Regions from separate parts of the Homo sapiens genome. Here regions 2 and 3 are each linked to region 1. The links are contacts of gene promoters, found by promoter capture Hi-C in human tissues and cell types (Jung and others, 2019). All regions are on one chromosome and are shown on one strand. The core of a region is centred on a gene start or on the middle of the fragment in contact, and the rest is flanking DNA. Distances in the headings are between cores, read along the strand shown. Region 1 holds the start of TTLL10 (tubulin tyrosine ligase like 10). Region 2 holds the start of RNF223 (ring finger protein 223). Region 3 overlaps C1orf159 (chromosome 1 open reading frame 159).

Region 1 (4,610 bases), core at 643-3,142:
CACCACACTCTCGAAAGGGTGGCTTCTCCTCCCGGCTGCTGAAAAACCACACAGGCAGGCACAACAACAGACGCTTACGCCCGCATCTGGAGGCCAGAACTCCAAAGCCACAGGGCAGGCAGGGCTGCACCCCTCTGGGGGCTCCAGGAGAGGACCCTGTCTGCCTCCCCAGCCCCTGCCAGCTCAGGCATCAGTGGCTGTGGCCGTGTCACCCATCTCTGCCCCCCAGTCCCACGGCGTCTCCCCCACGTCTGCGTCTCCTCTCTCCACCTCCCTCTCAGGGGGGCAGAGGCCATTGATTCAGGGCCTGCCCTGGGTGATGTCACTAGAGATCCTGACGTAACCCCACCTGCAAAGCCCCTTCTTCTAAATAAGGTCACATTCGAGGTTTCAGGGCTATGATGTGGTTGTCTTTTGGGGGCACCACCAGCCCCCTGCAAGGGGACCCTAAGCACAGAGGCCCTCGTGACCCACGCAAAGCTCTGAAGGACACGGATGGGTAGGGGACACGTGGCTGGAGGCTCAGAGTTTGAGGCAGAGGGGATCAGACCGTGCCATGGGTCATGCCAGGAGCCCAGGACTCCCAGACCTCGTATCATTAGGTGTTTTAAAGAGAAGGCGAGGGCAGGCCAGGCGCAGTGACTCACGCCTGTAATCCCAGCACTTTGGGAGGCCGAGGCGGGCGGATCACCTGAGGTCAGGAGTTCAAGAGCAGCCTGGCCAACATGATGAAACCCTCTAAAATTAATAATAAATTAATAATAAAATAATTATAATAATATAGAAAATAATATATAAAATAATAAATATATAAAATATAAAACAAAATAAAAATAAAAAATAAAATTAATATTAAAAATACAAAAATTAGCTGGGCACTGTGGTGGGCACCTGTAATCCCAGCTACTCGGGAGGCTGAGGCAGGAGAATTGCTTGATCCTGGGAGGCGGAGGTTGCAGTGAGCCGAGACCGTACCATTGCACTCCAGCCTGGGCAAAAGAGTGAGACTCCGTATTTTGAAAAAAAAAAAAGAGAGAATGTGAGGGTTAAACAAAGACACACAGAGATGGAGAAAGGGCAGCCTTACATCAACACGGGTACATTGCAAACACCTGCAGAGGTGGGGGACCAGCTGGATGCCAGAGCCCACTGCCGCCTACGGGCTGGGGTGCCTATAGGTATGGGTGGGAGCGGCCCGGGCCACACGGCTTCAGGATGAGGCCGTTTGTTTGGCCCTTGTTCCCGCAGAAGGTAATCGTGATGTTCCTCGGTGTTTTTCCCCGCAGAGTGTTCAAGTCAGGTGTCGGGCAGGCTGTTCCTCACGGCCCAAACCCCTGCGGAATGCTTCACTTTGGCCGAGGTCTGTGACACAGCGAGGGGCTTACAGAAAGGTGCAGTTTGGACCGATAGATGTGAGTCCCCCTCTGGGGGGCACTCACTTTGTGGAGCCCCCGGTTCCTGTTTGCAGAGGGGGGCACAGTGGCACCTCGTCCGCTGTGGAGTGAGAACAGGGACCCGACCACGTGAAGCACAGAGAATGCTCAGGGATCGGCAGCCGTGTATCCAGCCAACATCACCAGGGTGCACGCAGAGCCTGGCCCGGGCCAGGTCCTGGGGTGCTGAGCATGGGTGGGGCCTGAGAGACGGCTCAGGGACCATCCTGGGAGGGCCGGGCGGAGGGGCAGCAACTGGGGCTCAGGCTCAGGCAGTCCCAGCAGTGACTGGGAGGCAGCTGTGCCCATGAAGCTGTGCCCTTCTCCAGCCTCAGCCCTCAGCCCGGCTTCCCGGGCTGGCCCCGCCACTCAGCAGCCCCTCCCCATCCTCCGAAAACCCAAGCTCACCTCTGGGTTCCGGCTGGGTGGGGGTTGCCAGGAGACGGTTGCCAGGTCACCACTGTTGTTTCCTGGCCCAGGCTCCCAGGACCTTGTGGGCTGGGCAGGTAAGAAGCGCCGGCGGCCACCAGCTGGGGTCCAGTGGGCTCGGCCCCGCCCTCCTACGCCCTGCCTGCGGGTCCCCTCGGGAGGCTGCTCAGGAGAGGAGGAGGCTGGGGAGGGGACTGGACAGGGATCGGGTAGGGTGGGGCCAGGCTGAGCCTGCTCTGCGGGTCCCGGACCCCAGCGCCACCGTGCGAGAGGCTCGGGTCCAGGCCAGGCCGGGGAACGGTGTGTGTACCCGGTGGGGTGGGAGGGCTGGGCAGCCCTGGGACGAGCTCCGTGGCCTGGGACCAGGTCTGCCTCCGCAGAGCAAGTCCTGGACGGACGGCTGCTTGAGCCCACAGGTCGTGCGTCCTTTGACAGCGGCCTCCGGCCGGGAGGCACCAGCTCTTCGAACAATGTCAGTACCTTCCTAGGGCCCCACGTGGCCAAGCTTGGATTCTGGGGGGAGAACTCGCAGCAGGACACTAACATGTGGTCGCTTTTTGGATGATTTCTTCAGGTTTAAAAGTCTCTTCTGTTCATCCTACCGGGGTGCCGTCTCCTGCCGGTCTTTTCATCTCACCAGGTAAAACGCTTATTTTACAATTTATTGTAAGGTCGTGCACCAAGTTTCCACGCCGCCTTTACACCGTGTCCCCACCGAGGGGCGTCACAACCGTCCTCCACACCGGGCGTCACCGGCTTCCCAAGTCCCACCGCTATAAAGGACACGTCAGTCAGCATCTCGGAGTGAGACGCTTTCCTTCTGGATTCAGAATCGCGTCCGTCAGAGACTCCAAAGCACATTTGCTAGATCGACAGGCGTGAGGAGCCAGCGGCTCCCGGCGCTTGGGAGGCTGCGTCCCACCTGCATTCAGGCCCCGGGTTCACCACACACACAGCGGGCAGCTGCTTAAGAAACCTTTGATTTCAGTCCGGGGCGGTGGCTCACGCCTGTAATCCCAGCACTTTGGGAGGCCGAGGTGGGCGGATCACGAGGTCAGGAGTTTGAGACCAGCCTGGTCAACATGGAGAAACCCTGTCTCTACTAAAAATACAAAAATTAGCCGGGCATGGCAGCAGGCGCCTGTAATCCCAGCTACTCAGGAGGCTGAGGCGGGAGAATTGTTTGAACCTGGGAGGCGGAGGTTACAGTGAGCCGCGATTGCGCCATTGCACTCCAGCCTGGGCGACAGAGTGAGACTTCGTCTAAAAAAATTAAAAAAAAAAACACCTTTAATTTCAATGACAAGAAATAACAGCTCACAACTTATTTAGTTATTTGTGAACATCATAAGGACATAAAGTTAGAAAAGCCCAAAGGAGGCCTCAGGCTTACGATGAAATCAGCACCTGGCTGCCTCTTCCAGCTGCTGCTTCTTCTGCAGCAGAAGAGACGGAGGCAGTTTCCTGGGTGGGGGGGTGGGTGCTGTGCTTCCGCTTTCTAACTGCCTGTTTCCAAAAAGCACCTGATGCTGCTGCTTCTGGAGCTTCCAGTGCAGAAATTCCCCGTGGACGGTGAAAGGGGCTTGTCTTCCACACGCTGCCCTGTCCATATCATCCCGGCACGAATGATGTTTGGGGCAGAGCTGCCCGGCCTCCCCGGGTGGTGCCCATTTGTTTTCCTCAGAGTTGGCGATCGCCTTGCTTTTCACATGTGCTTGTGTTCCCGCCTATCCTGAGCTGTCCCTGAGCTCTCTGCCTCCCGTCACCCCCACAGTCACCATCACCACAGCCCTGCAGACTGCGCAGTGTGTGGCGGGTGCTGTCCTGACATTACATGTGGAAACTCCATCTTTGCAGCAACCCTGCGAGGCTGCTGCTCCCAGCTGCTGTGCAGGTGGAGAGAGGCTGCTGTTGTGCAGGTGGAGAGGCTGCTGCTCCCAGCCGCTGTGCAGGTGGAGAGAGGCTGCCACCGTGCAGGTGGAGAGAGGCTGCCGCTGTGCCGGTGGAGAGGCTGCTGCCGTGCAGGTGGAGAGAGGCTGCCGCTGTGCCGGTGGAGAGGCTGCTGCTCCCAGCCGCTGTGCAGGTGGAGAGAGGCTGACGCTGTGCAGGTGGAAAGAGGCTGACGCTGTGCAGGTGGAGAGGCTGCTGCTCCCAGCCACTGTGCAGGTGGAGAGAGGCTGACGCTGTGCAGGTGGAGAGGCTGACGCTGTGCAGGTGGAGAGAGGCTGCCGCTGTGCAGGTGGAGAGACTGCTGCTCCCAGCCGCTGTGCAGGTGGAGAGAGGCTGACGCTGTGCAGGTGGAGAGAGGCTGACGCTGTGCAGGTGGAGAGAGGCTGCCGCTGTGCCGGTGGAGAGGCTGCTGCTCCCAGCCGCTGTGCAGGTGGAGAGAGGCTGACGCTGTGCAGGTGGAGAGAGGCTGACGCTGTGCAGGTGGAGAGGCTGCTGCTCCCAGCCGCTGTGCAGGTGGAGAGAGGCTGACACTGTGCAGGTGGAGAGAGGCTGACGCTGTGCAGCTGGAGAGAGGCTGACGCTGTACAGCTGGAGAGGCTGGGGCACACAGTCATCAGGTCAGCTGCAAGCTCACAGCTGCTGCATCTTTTCCCTGACAGCTCACTCCTGTGAGAGTCTTCCAGGCTTCCCGGAGGGACGGATGTCTCCTCACCTTTTCCCACCTCCACACCTTTTCCCACCTCCACACCTGGTAGGCCAGGTATGGAATTCCTGGAATTCCCGGCTGGGAGCCTCCTG
Region 2 (4,610 bases), core at 1,257-3,756, 100 kb before region 1:
GGCAGAGGCTGCTGGCCCTAATTATCAGTCAGAGGCCCGAGGGGGGAGGCGGCTGTGCTGGTGGCCGGGGGCCGGGGGGGCAGGGGCAGGCAGCGCAGGTTCCCGGTCTTGAGCGCGCACTGCACCGGCCAGAGTGCCACACAGAAGAGCATCAGCAGCAGGGCAGAGACCAGTGCCATGCGCCTCCAGTCCCTGCAGCGCGCCCAGCAGCGGGCCAGGCGGCCCCGGCGGGGGGCAGGGTCCCGGGCGGGCGCGGGCGGCTCGGCAGGCTTGCTCAAACCCACGTCCACGCATACGAAACCGGGCTCGCGGCCAGGTGTGGTGGGCAGTGGCTGGCAGCACAGCTTGGTGCCCTCCAGCCACACAGGCTCCTCACGCCGCAAATGCGCCGGCATCCGGGCCTGCAGCTGGCGGCTGGTGCACAGCGCGGGGGCTCCGGCGGGCGGCACGGCCGTGGGCTGCCTGCAGAAGGGGCAAGGTACAGCCTCACCACCGGGGCGGCCCACAGGCTGAGCAGCCGCCAGCCGGGCCAGGCACTCCAGGCAGAAGACGTGGGTGCAGGAGAGCTCCTTGGGTGTCTTGAAGATGTTGTCATAGCCTGAGAAACAGATGGAGCACTCCAGGGGGGAGGCCACCCTCTCCGAGCCAGGGGTGCCAGGGGACCTGGGGCTGCCGGCCGAGCTGGGGGACCTGGGCATCGAGGCTATGGAGCTGCTCCGGCGAGGGGGTGGCACAGCCGTGTGCCACACCTGCTGGCCTGACGACATGTCTCTGAGCTGTGGGACAGGGACTGTGGTAAGCAATCACCGGCCGCCCCTTTCTGGTGGTGTTTTATCTCTCCCTCCCCTCTCTCGCCCCAGAGATCCCAGGGAAGGACTCTGTTTCCTGCGCGCCACTCCAGAAAGTTCCTCCGGTGCCCCTGGAGGTCATTCTGCCCCACGTGCAATCCTGTCCTCTCCACCCCATCACATGGCTGCACCGGGGTGAGCCTCCCACAGGGCCCCAGGCCTGCTCCGGGAATGCAGGCCGTGTGTAGGGGGGTCTCACTGACCGCTCGGCAGACACCTCCTGTTGGCCCTGCCCCACCTGGCTGGCCCTGCTGCCCGGGCAGAAATAATGGTGAGGATGACAATAGCCACAGTCGTCACTGTTTATGTCGGAGCTCTGCAAGGCTGGGCCCACATCACGGGACTCACACAACGCCACAGTGTGGAAAAGGCCGCCCAGAGCATGGGTGACTCGGCCAGGGCCACCCCAAGGGAGCTGGCGGGCCCTGGACCCTGGCAGATACGGCTCTCAGGCAGGCCAGGGACTCCAAGTCAAGTGAAGTGAGTTTGAACTCAGATCCCAGGATGGGTGCCTGGCTTGGGCGGTGCAGGCCTGATTTGTAGGCAGCTATGTGAGGGTGGGGTGTGGGGGTCTCTGGGTCTGGGGACCGGGCTGAGCCCCGGGGGCTTTGGGACGACAGGGAGGGCCCAGGCAGGGGCAGGGGTCAGTGCCCGAGGAAGGTGCACGTCAGGCACGACCTGCGGCCTGCGGGGCCGGCTTGTCTAGCTGCTGAGGGTCTGATGTGCACAGTGTGGGGGTGGGACTTGGATAAGCCCAGCCATTCCCTCTGGGCCAGCCCACTGCCTCATGGTCAGGTGATGGTCAGGGCACCCTCAGCCGCCCACTGAGTGGGTGTTTCTTCTCCCTGACCCAATCCCACTTCATGGCAGGGACCCTGGGGGACGGACACTGGGGGATGCTGCTCTGCCCCTGGGCATGGCTCAGGTGGGCATCTCAGCTGACCTGGGACCCTGCTCCACCTCCCGCCCCTCCCCTGCACCCAGGATCCGCTGCAGGGAGCCACAGGGGTCCCACCTGGAGGGAAGTGGGCAAGGGTGACAGTGAGACTCAAGGGCCTGGCCGTGCGTCCCCGTGGGGCCCAGGAGGCTGCCCCAGAAGTGACTCCTGGCACTGCCCCGCCCCACCCCTGACTTGCCAGTGAGTCCCAGACAGGCTGGCGGGATGACACAGGTCACTGTGACCACCTGAGTCACACGCCGTCACTGTGAGGCCGTGAGTGCCCCAGGCACCGGGACCTGGGGACTGTGCTCTGCGGCCTGTGTACCCCACAGAACCGGTTCCTTGGCACGAGGCCCCACCCCTCCACGATGGTGCCCCACCCTGAGCCTGTGCAGGTAAGGGGTGAACACGGGCTGAGCTGGCCTTACCTGGTGGCCGGGGGTCAGCGGGCCTGGGCGTGGTCCTCCTCGCCGGCCACGGTTGGGCTCCAAGGCCCTGGGCTGCCCTGCCGTGGCAGTGTCTGCTTCCTCTTCTCCGGGCCCGGCCCGGCCTGTGCTTCACCCAGCAGGTATCCCTCCCCGGGGCCGGCCACCAGCAGCTGTCCCGGTGGCACTGGTCTGGCAGGTGTGGCTTCTGCTCTGTCCAAGACAGGCGGGGACACAAGGAATGCGTGCGCCGTCACCCGCACAGAGCTCTGGTCTGAGGCAGGTGTGAGTTGCTGGGTGTGGGCTCCCAAGCAGGTCTATTTATACCCTATGGGCCAAGGGTGTGGCCGCAAGCCTCAGGGATTGGCTGGCTTCATCCTCTCCTTGGCGGGCCAGGCAGCTGGAGGGCAGGGAGGGAGGGGTGAGGGTCGGAGCCGGGTAGGGGTCAGCACAGCCGCTGCAGCCTGGGCAGGTCTGGGCTGGGGTGTGTGCTTGGACAAAGCCCTCTCTCCCTATAGCCCCAGGAGGCTGGAGCACCTGCTGGAAGCTGCTCACCGCAGTTCCAGGTCCCTGTGGCCCCTGAGCTCCTGGGTGGGCCTCCTAGCAGGGGCCCTCCCCGAGCCCCCCACAACCTATGCCCAGCCTGCCCCTGCCCTTTGCTCACTGCTGCCTGCCCTCACAGCCCATTCCTGCCACTTCCCTGCCCACACCCACCCATGTGCTCACCTGCCTCATCCATACACATACGTGGCTGCTCTCACACATGGGCCATGTGTTCACACGCTCTATGCCCCCGTGTCCACAGGCTCTCACACACGTGCCGTGTCCGGAAGCTCACATATGCCATGTCCACACTCACACACGCCGTGTCCACACTCACACGCCGTGTCCACACTCTCACACACATGCCATGTCCACATGCTCTCACACACGTGCCCTGTGTCCACACACACACACATGCCATGTCCACATGCCCTAGCAGACTACAGGACTGGTCTGTGCAAAGACCAGGGCTGGAGCTGGTTGAGAGTCTGGGGGCTGAGGCTGGCAGGGCTGGGATGGAGGATGTGTGGGTCTCAGAGGAGCAGCCAGTGGCATGGGCTGCCCCGTCCCCCGCACACCCCGCTGTGGGCCCGAGGGCCTGGTGTAGAGCTGCACCCCCAGGCTGTCCAGCTGCCAGCTCCCCACCTCACTGAGGCGTCTCTCTCCCAGCCCAGTGGACCTCATGCAAGGGGAGGTCCGACCCGGCTGCCACAGCCCCATCCCCGCCATGAGGCCTGGGCCGGACCTGAGCTGGGACTCCACACACCAGCCTGGGGGGGTGCCACACTGGGTGGGGCTGGGAGTGAGGGACCCACCCTAGTGGGAGAGCTGGCCGGGCCACCCCACAGACTGCCCTCAGGCAACTCCCATGCAGGTGCCCGCCGACCCCTCAGTAGGGACCCAGAGGCTCCCCCAGGGCTGCCGCGGGCATCCTGGAGCCCAAGGGATGCTGGGAAGTGGGAACCAGGACTGCAGAGGCCAGGGGGCAACACCCCGAGGAGGAGCACAGGGACTTGGGCTCAGGAAGGGCCGGACCCCTGCCAGTTCCATGAGGACTCTCAGTCGGGGGTTGGGGGGACCCCTGCCAGTTCCATGAGGACTCTCAGTCAGGGGTTGGGGGGACCCCTGCCAGTTCCATGAGGACTCTCAGTCGGGGGTTAGGGGGGTTCAGAGAGCGGATTTGGGTGCTCAGACAGGGAGGGGTGGATGCTCAGAGAGCGGGGCGCGGGCTGGGGCTGGGCTTTCAGACAGGGAGGGCTGGGGACTCAAGAGCTGGGGAGGGGTGGGAGCTCTGTGAGGGGCTCCGTGCGGGGTGGCTGAGGCTATGGGAACTCTGTGGGGGGAGGCTGAGGCTATGGGGACTCCGTGGGGGGAGGCTGAGGCTATGGGGACTCCGTGCCGGGAGGCTGAGGCTATGGGGACTCCGTGGCGGGAGGCTGAGGCTATGGGGACTCCGTGGGGGGAGGCTGAGGTTATGGGGACTCCGTGCTGGGAGGCTGAGGCTATGGGGACTCCATCGGGGGAGGCTGAGTCTATGGGGACTCCGTGGGGGGAGGCTGAGGCTATGGGGACTCCGTGCCGGGAGGCTGAGGCTATGGGGACTCCGTGGGGCAGGCTGAGGCTACGGTGACTCCGTGCAGGGCTGTGAGGCTACGGGGACTCCGTGGGGGGTGGCTGAGGCTACGGGGACTCCGTGGGGGGAGGCTGAGGCTACGGGGACTCCGTGGGGGGAGGCTGAGGCTACGGGGACTCCGTGGGGGGAGGCTGAGGCTACGGGGACTCCGTGCTGGGAGGCTGAGGCTATGGGGACTCCGTCGGGGGAGGCTGAGTCTATGGGGACTCCGTGGGGGGAGG
Region 3 (4,610 bases), core at 639-3,138, 64 kb before region 1:
ACCAGAAGGAAGAAACTCCAAACACATCTGAACATCAGAAGGAACAAACTCCGGACACACCATCTTTAAGAACTGTAACACTCACTGCGAGGGTCTGCGGCTTCATTCTTGAAGTCAGTGAGACCAAGAATCCACCAATTCTAGACACATTAGCAGCACCATTCACCACAGCCACCATGTCTCGGCAGCACCATTCACCACAGCCCCATGTCTCAGCACTGTTCACCACAGCCACCATGTCTCAGCAGCACCGTCCACCACAGCCACCATGTCTCAGCACCGTTCACCACAGCCACCATGTCTCAGCAGCACCGTTCACCACAGCCACCATGTCTCAGCAGCACCGTTCACCACAGCCACCATGTCTCAGCAGCACCGTCCACCACAGCCACCATGTCTCGGCACCGTTCACCACAGCCACCATGTCTCAGCAGCACCGTCCACCACAGCCACCATGTCTTGGCACTGTTCACCACAGCCACCATGTCTCGGCACCGTTCACCACAGCCACCATGTCTCAGCAGCACCGTCCACCACAGCCACCATGTCTCGACACCGTTCACCACAGCCACCATGTCTCAGCAGCACCGTCCACCACAGCCACCATGTCTCGGCAGCACCGTCCACCACAGCCACCATGTCTCGGCACCATTCACCACAGCCACCATGTCTCGGCACCGTCCACCACAGCCACCATGTCTCGGCACCGTTCACCACAGCCACCATGTCTCAGCAGCACCGTCCACCACAGCCACCATGTCTCGGCAGCACCGTTCACCACAGCCACCATGTCTCAGCACCATCCACCACGGCCACCATGTCTCAGCAGCACCGTCCACCACAGCCACCATGTCTCGGCAGCACCGTTCACCACAGCCACCATGTCTCGGCACCGTTCACCACAGCCACCATGTCTGCAGCAGCATTGTTCACCACAGCCACCATGTCTCGGCACCATCCACCACGGCCACCATGTCTCAGCAGCACCGTCCACCACAGCCACCATGTCTCGGCAGCACCGTCCACCACAGCCACCATGTCTCGGCAGCACCGTTCACCACAGCCACCATGTCTCAGCACCATCCACCACGGCCACCATGTCTCAGCAGCACCGTCCACCACAGCCACCATGTCTCGGCAGCACCGTTCACCACAGCCACCATGTCTCGGCACCGTTCACCACAGCCACCATGTCTGCAGCAGCATTGTTCACCACAGCCAAAAGGTGGGAGCAAGTGTCCACCCACAGATGAATGGATAAACAAAAGGTGGTCTATACAGACCGTGGAATATTCTACAGTCCTGAAAAGAAATTTTGGACGCATGCTACAACAGGAATGAACCTTGAAAACACTATGCTAAGTGAAAGCAGCTCATCACAACAGGACAAATACTGTATGATTCTACTCATGAGGTTCCCAGGGTTGTCGAATTCATAGAGACAGAAAAGACAACGGTGGTTGCCAGGGGCTGGGGGGCAGGGAGGAATGGGGAGTTAGTGTTTAATGGGAACAGTTTCCTTTCCTTTTTCCTTTCCTCTTTTCTCCTTTCTTTCCTTTCCTCCTTTTTAAAATTTCTTTCTTTCTTTTAGAGATGGGTTTGCTCTGTTGCCCAGGCTGGAGTGCAGTGGTGCAATCATAGCTCACCGCCATCTTGAACTCCTGGGCTCAAGCAACTCTCCCGCCTCAGCCTCCCAAGTAGCTAGGACTACATGCCTGCCACCATATCTGGCTAATTTTATTTTTATTTTTTGGTAAAAAGGGTGTCTTGCTGTGTTTCGCAGGCTGGTCTTGAACTCCTGGGCTCAAGCGCTCCTCTCTCCTGTCTTAATGCATGTGTACTAGATAAACATGCATGTAACGCAGGACCCATGTTCACTGAGAGGTGAGATTTCACATTTACATGTAAGACAATTAGGCCCTATATGGCCAAAGGTGAGGCGCGGCCCGGGAGTCACTCCAGTCACATCCTCCATAGACCAGCAGAACCAGTCCGTGGCCAGTGGTGTCTTATCAGGAGGAAGTTATGGAAAGTGACGCTGTAGTTATGGCCGTGAAATGGGGGGTCAGTTAGTGCCTGGCAGCGAGCCATCACTGTTTCCATACCGCTTGTCTCAGGCCAGTGCCTGCTTAACTGCTAGAGGAAAAGAAAACCCAAGCCTTATTCTTTAACTGTAAGGGTGTGTGACTTAACCCCGGCCTGGCACGGCCTTAGGTCCTGATTATAACTCGGCGTCTTATTGCCGCAGAGTCTGTCAGTCTCGTGATCTCCACTTTAACACTAATGTTGGTCAGTTGTGTCTAAACTGAAAAAGGGTGGCAGTATAACCAGGTGTGTCCAACCTCCCATCCTTTTATGGCCGGAAACTCAATTTTTAAGGTTTCTCTGGGGTCCCCTTGACCAAGAGGGAGCTCGTTCAGTCGGCGGGGGACTTAGGATTTTATTCTTAGTTTACAACATCAGTAATAAAATTAATAGGCAAATCAAAGAATGGGAGATAGTCACAGTACACGTACCAGACAAAAGCCCTGAATATGGAATATATAAAGGACTTTCACAATCTGGTCATCAAAAAAATGGGCAAAAGACATCCTCGGACACTCAGAAAACGTGTGCGAATGGCAACAGATGAGTGGACAGTGCTCAACACGGGTGAGCGTCAGGGAAATGCAAACTAAAGCCTCCACGACCAAACGGCACTCAGCCTCTCGGCTGTGGGGACACACAGAACCGCTGGGACTTCCACACCTGGGATGCAGCCTTCCCCCCGGGCACGTTCCCAAGAGAAACAACACACGCCCGCCAAACACGTGCACAAAAATAGGCCCAACTCTTCAGACAGCGGAAACCCACCCGGGCGCCCTCAGAGACGACGAGCACGCAACAGCGCATCCCACACCCACTCCTTGTGCAGCACCTCAGAGGAAGCTCAACAACAGTTCTCTGCGTGAGCCGTGGCAGACGCAAAACCGCCCGCACGTGTGACTCCTAACACTCAGAGTGTCGGTAAAATCACAGCAGCGCTCCTGTCTGGCGCGGCAGGCGGGCGCTGGAGCAGCCTGCGAGGCAATCTCCATGGATCACAGGCAGATTCTACATCACGACAGGAGTCTGGTGAATCCTTTGTCAAAACAATTGAACTGGACACAAGCTCTGTGTGTTTCACTGCATGTAAATTATGCCTTAGTAACTAAACACATGCATTTTCTATTTTGAAAATCTCATTGGAGCCAAAAAGCTAAATAATGGGATGAAAATTTCTACAAGGCAATGAAAAATTTAGTGAGAATTTAAATTGTGCTATACACTCTTTGACCACTCTTATTTTCCCTTAGAAGAACTGGTTTCAGGGCAGGTGTGGAGGCTCAGGCCTGCAATCCCATCATTTTGGGAGGCCAAGGTGGGAGGATCGCTTGAGCCCAGGAGTTCAAAACCAGCCCGGACAACAGAGTGAGATCTCATCTCTACCAAAAAAAAAAAAAAAAAAAAATAGCTGGGCTTGGTGACGTATACTTGTGGTCCCAGCTATTTGGGAGGCTGAAGTGAAAGAATCTCTTGAGCCTGGGAGGTCAAGGCTACAGTGAGCCATGATCGCACCACTGCACTCTACCTGGGCGACAGAGCCAGACCCCGTCTCAACAACAACAACAAAGAACTGGTTTCAAGAAAAAAATGATGCCTCAGGTCACTGTGATTTTAAATAAGTAACATCTTGCAAAACAACCCTGTAAAAGCAACCACCGGCTGGGGCAGTGGGTAGACCACACCCACGCTCACCGTAACTCCAGCCGCCCAGGCAGCAGTAACTGAAAAGGGGAGGCGGGAGGGTCCACTGGCGGGTTTCTCACGCTGCTGAACCTCGGTAAACACAGCCCCGAGGGCTGGCTGGAGCTTCCACTGCATCCGTGTAGCTAATGCTGGTCATCTTCGTAGCAAGCAAAGGAAGCCAACGTGAAACGTAGCTTTAAGGGCCCAATAAGAACTGTCTGGGGCCTCTCTACCTAAAGATCCCTCTCGTGCTTTGATAGAAAACAAATACCGCAAACCCCTTGATGGGGTGTAAAGGAGACATCCCCCTTTGTTGACATGCATGGTAGTCGCTGCCCACCTACCCGTGGGCTCAGCACACCGGAGTCGGGCGGTTGCCGTAGGTGGCTCAGCAGACGTGAGCAGGGCAGGATCGGGCCCATCCCCCCACCGGGAATGTCAGGCCACCATCAGGTGATGGTCAGGTGGCTGTTAACTGTCTAAAAGAACTGGTTGCACCCAGCGCCAGGGAAAGACAGGCTCCCAATAGCTAGAAAACACATGAAATCCGGTGATGGGCAGCTTCCCGATACGATCTCAGGAACTGGGCGAGTTGGCTCAAGCGTGTGCACTGAGAGGCAAAATGGCGGCGTGTAACCGTTCTATGACCTTCTAGGGACGTTTGACAGGTAACGGAAGAACGCCTCAGGTGAGCATGGGCACTACTCCAGTGAACACACGGCGCACGGTCCCTCCCTCCAGTGAACACAACGCACACGCTCCCTCCCTCCAGTGAACACACAGCGCATGCTCCCTCCTTCCAGTGAACACACGGCACATGCTACCTCCCTCCAGTGAACACA

What was found. The method cuts DNA at HindIII sites, captures the fragments that hold promoters and counts their contacts. A contact is called where the count stands out against the background at its distance.
Region 2: the fragment with the promoter of RNF223 here is called in contact with the fragment with the promoter of TTLL10 in region 1 in 5 of the 25 tissues and cell types used here (IMR-90 fibroblasts, lymphoblastoid cells, mesenchymal stem cells and 2 more).
Region 3: a contact is called between a fragment that was not itself captured here and the fragment with the promoter of TTLL10 in region 1, in 11 of the 25 tissues and cell types used here (H1 embryonic stem cells, IMR-90 fibroblasts, bladder and 8 more).

Annotation. Positions count from the first base shown.
Region 1 is chr1:1,171,988-1,176,597 of GRCh38, forward strand. It overlaps TTLL10 (tubulin tyrosine ligase like 10), which reads left to right and starts at 1,893. Exons shown (of 16, transcript NM_001130045.2): 1 at 1,893-1,939; 2 at 2,298-2,334; 3 at 2,437-2,502. TTLL10-AS1 (TTLL10 antisense RNA 1) reads right to left here. Exons shown (of 2, transcript NR_173246.1): 2 at 1,069-4,409. RefSeq lists a silencer at 2,043-2,132 and an enhancer at 3,610-4,128. The HindIII fragment of the contact is 14,261 bases long and covers 1-4,610 here.
Region 2 is chr1:1,071,800-1,076,409 of GRCh38, forward strand. It overlaps RNF223 (ring finger protein 223), which reads right to left and starts at 2,507. Exons shown (of 2, transcript NM_001205252.2): 1 at 2,217-2,507; 2 at 1-776. The coding sequence starts at 767. The coding sequence ends at 18. RefSeq lists an enhancer at 2,200-2,699. The HindIII fragment of the contact is 34,324 bases long and covers 1-4,610 here.
Region 3 is chr1:1,107,897-1,112,506 of GRCh38, forward strand. All of the region lies in intron 1 of C1orf159 (chromosome 1 open reading frame 159), which reads right to left. Among named protein-coding and RNA genes, the nearest start is that of C1orf159, 5.9 kb to the right of the region's middle. RefSeq lists an enhancer at 3,893-4,394. The HindIII fragment of the contact is 6,974 bases long and covers 1-4,610 here.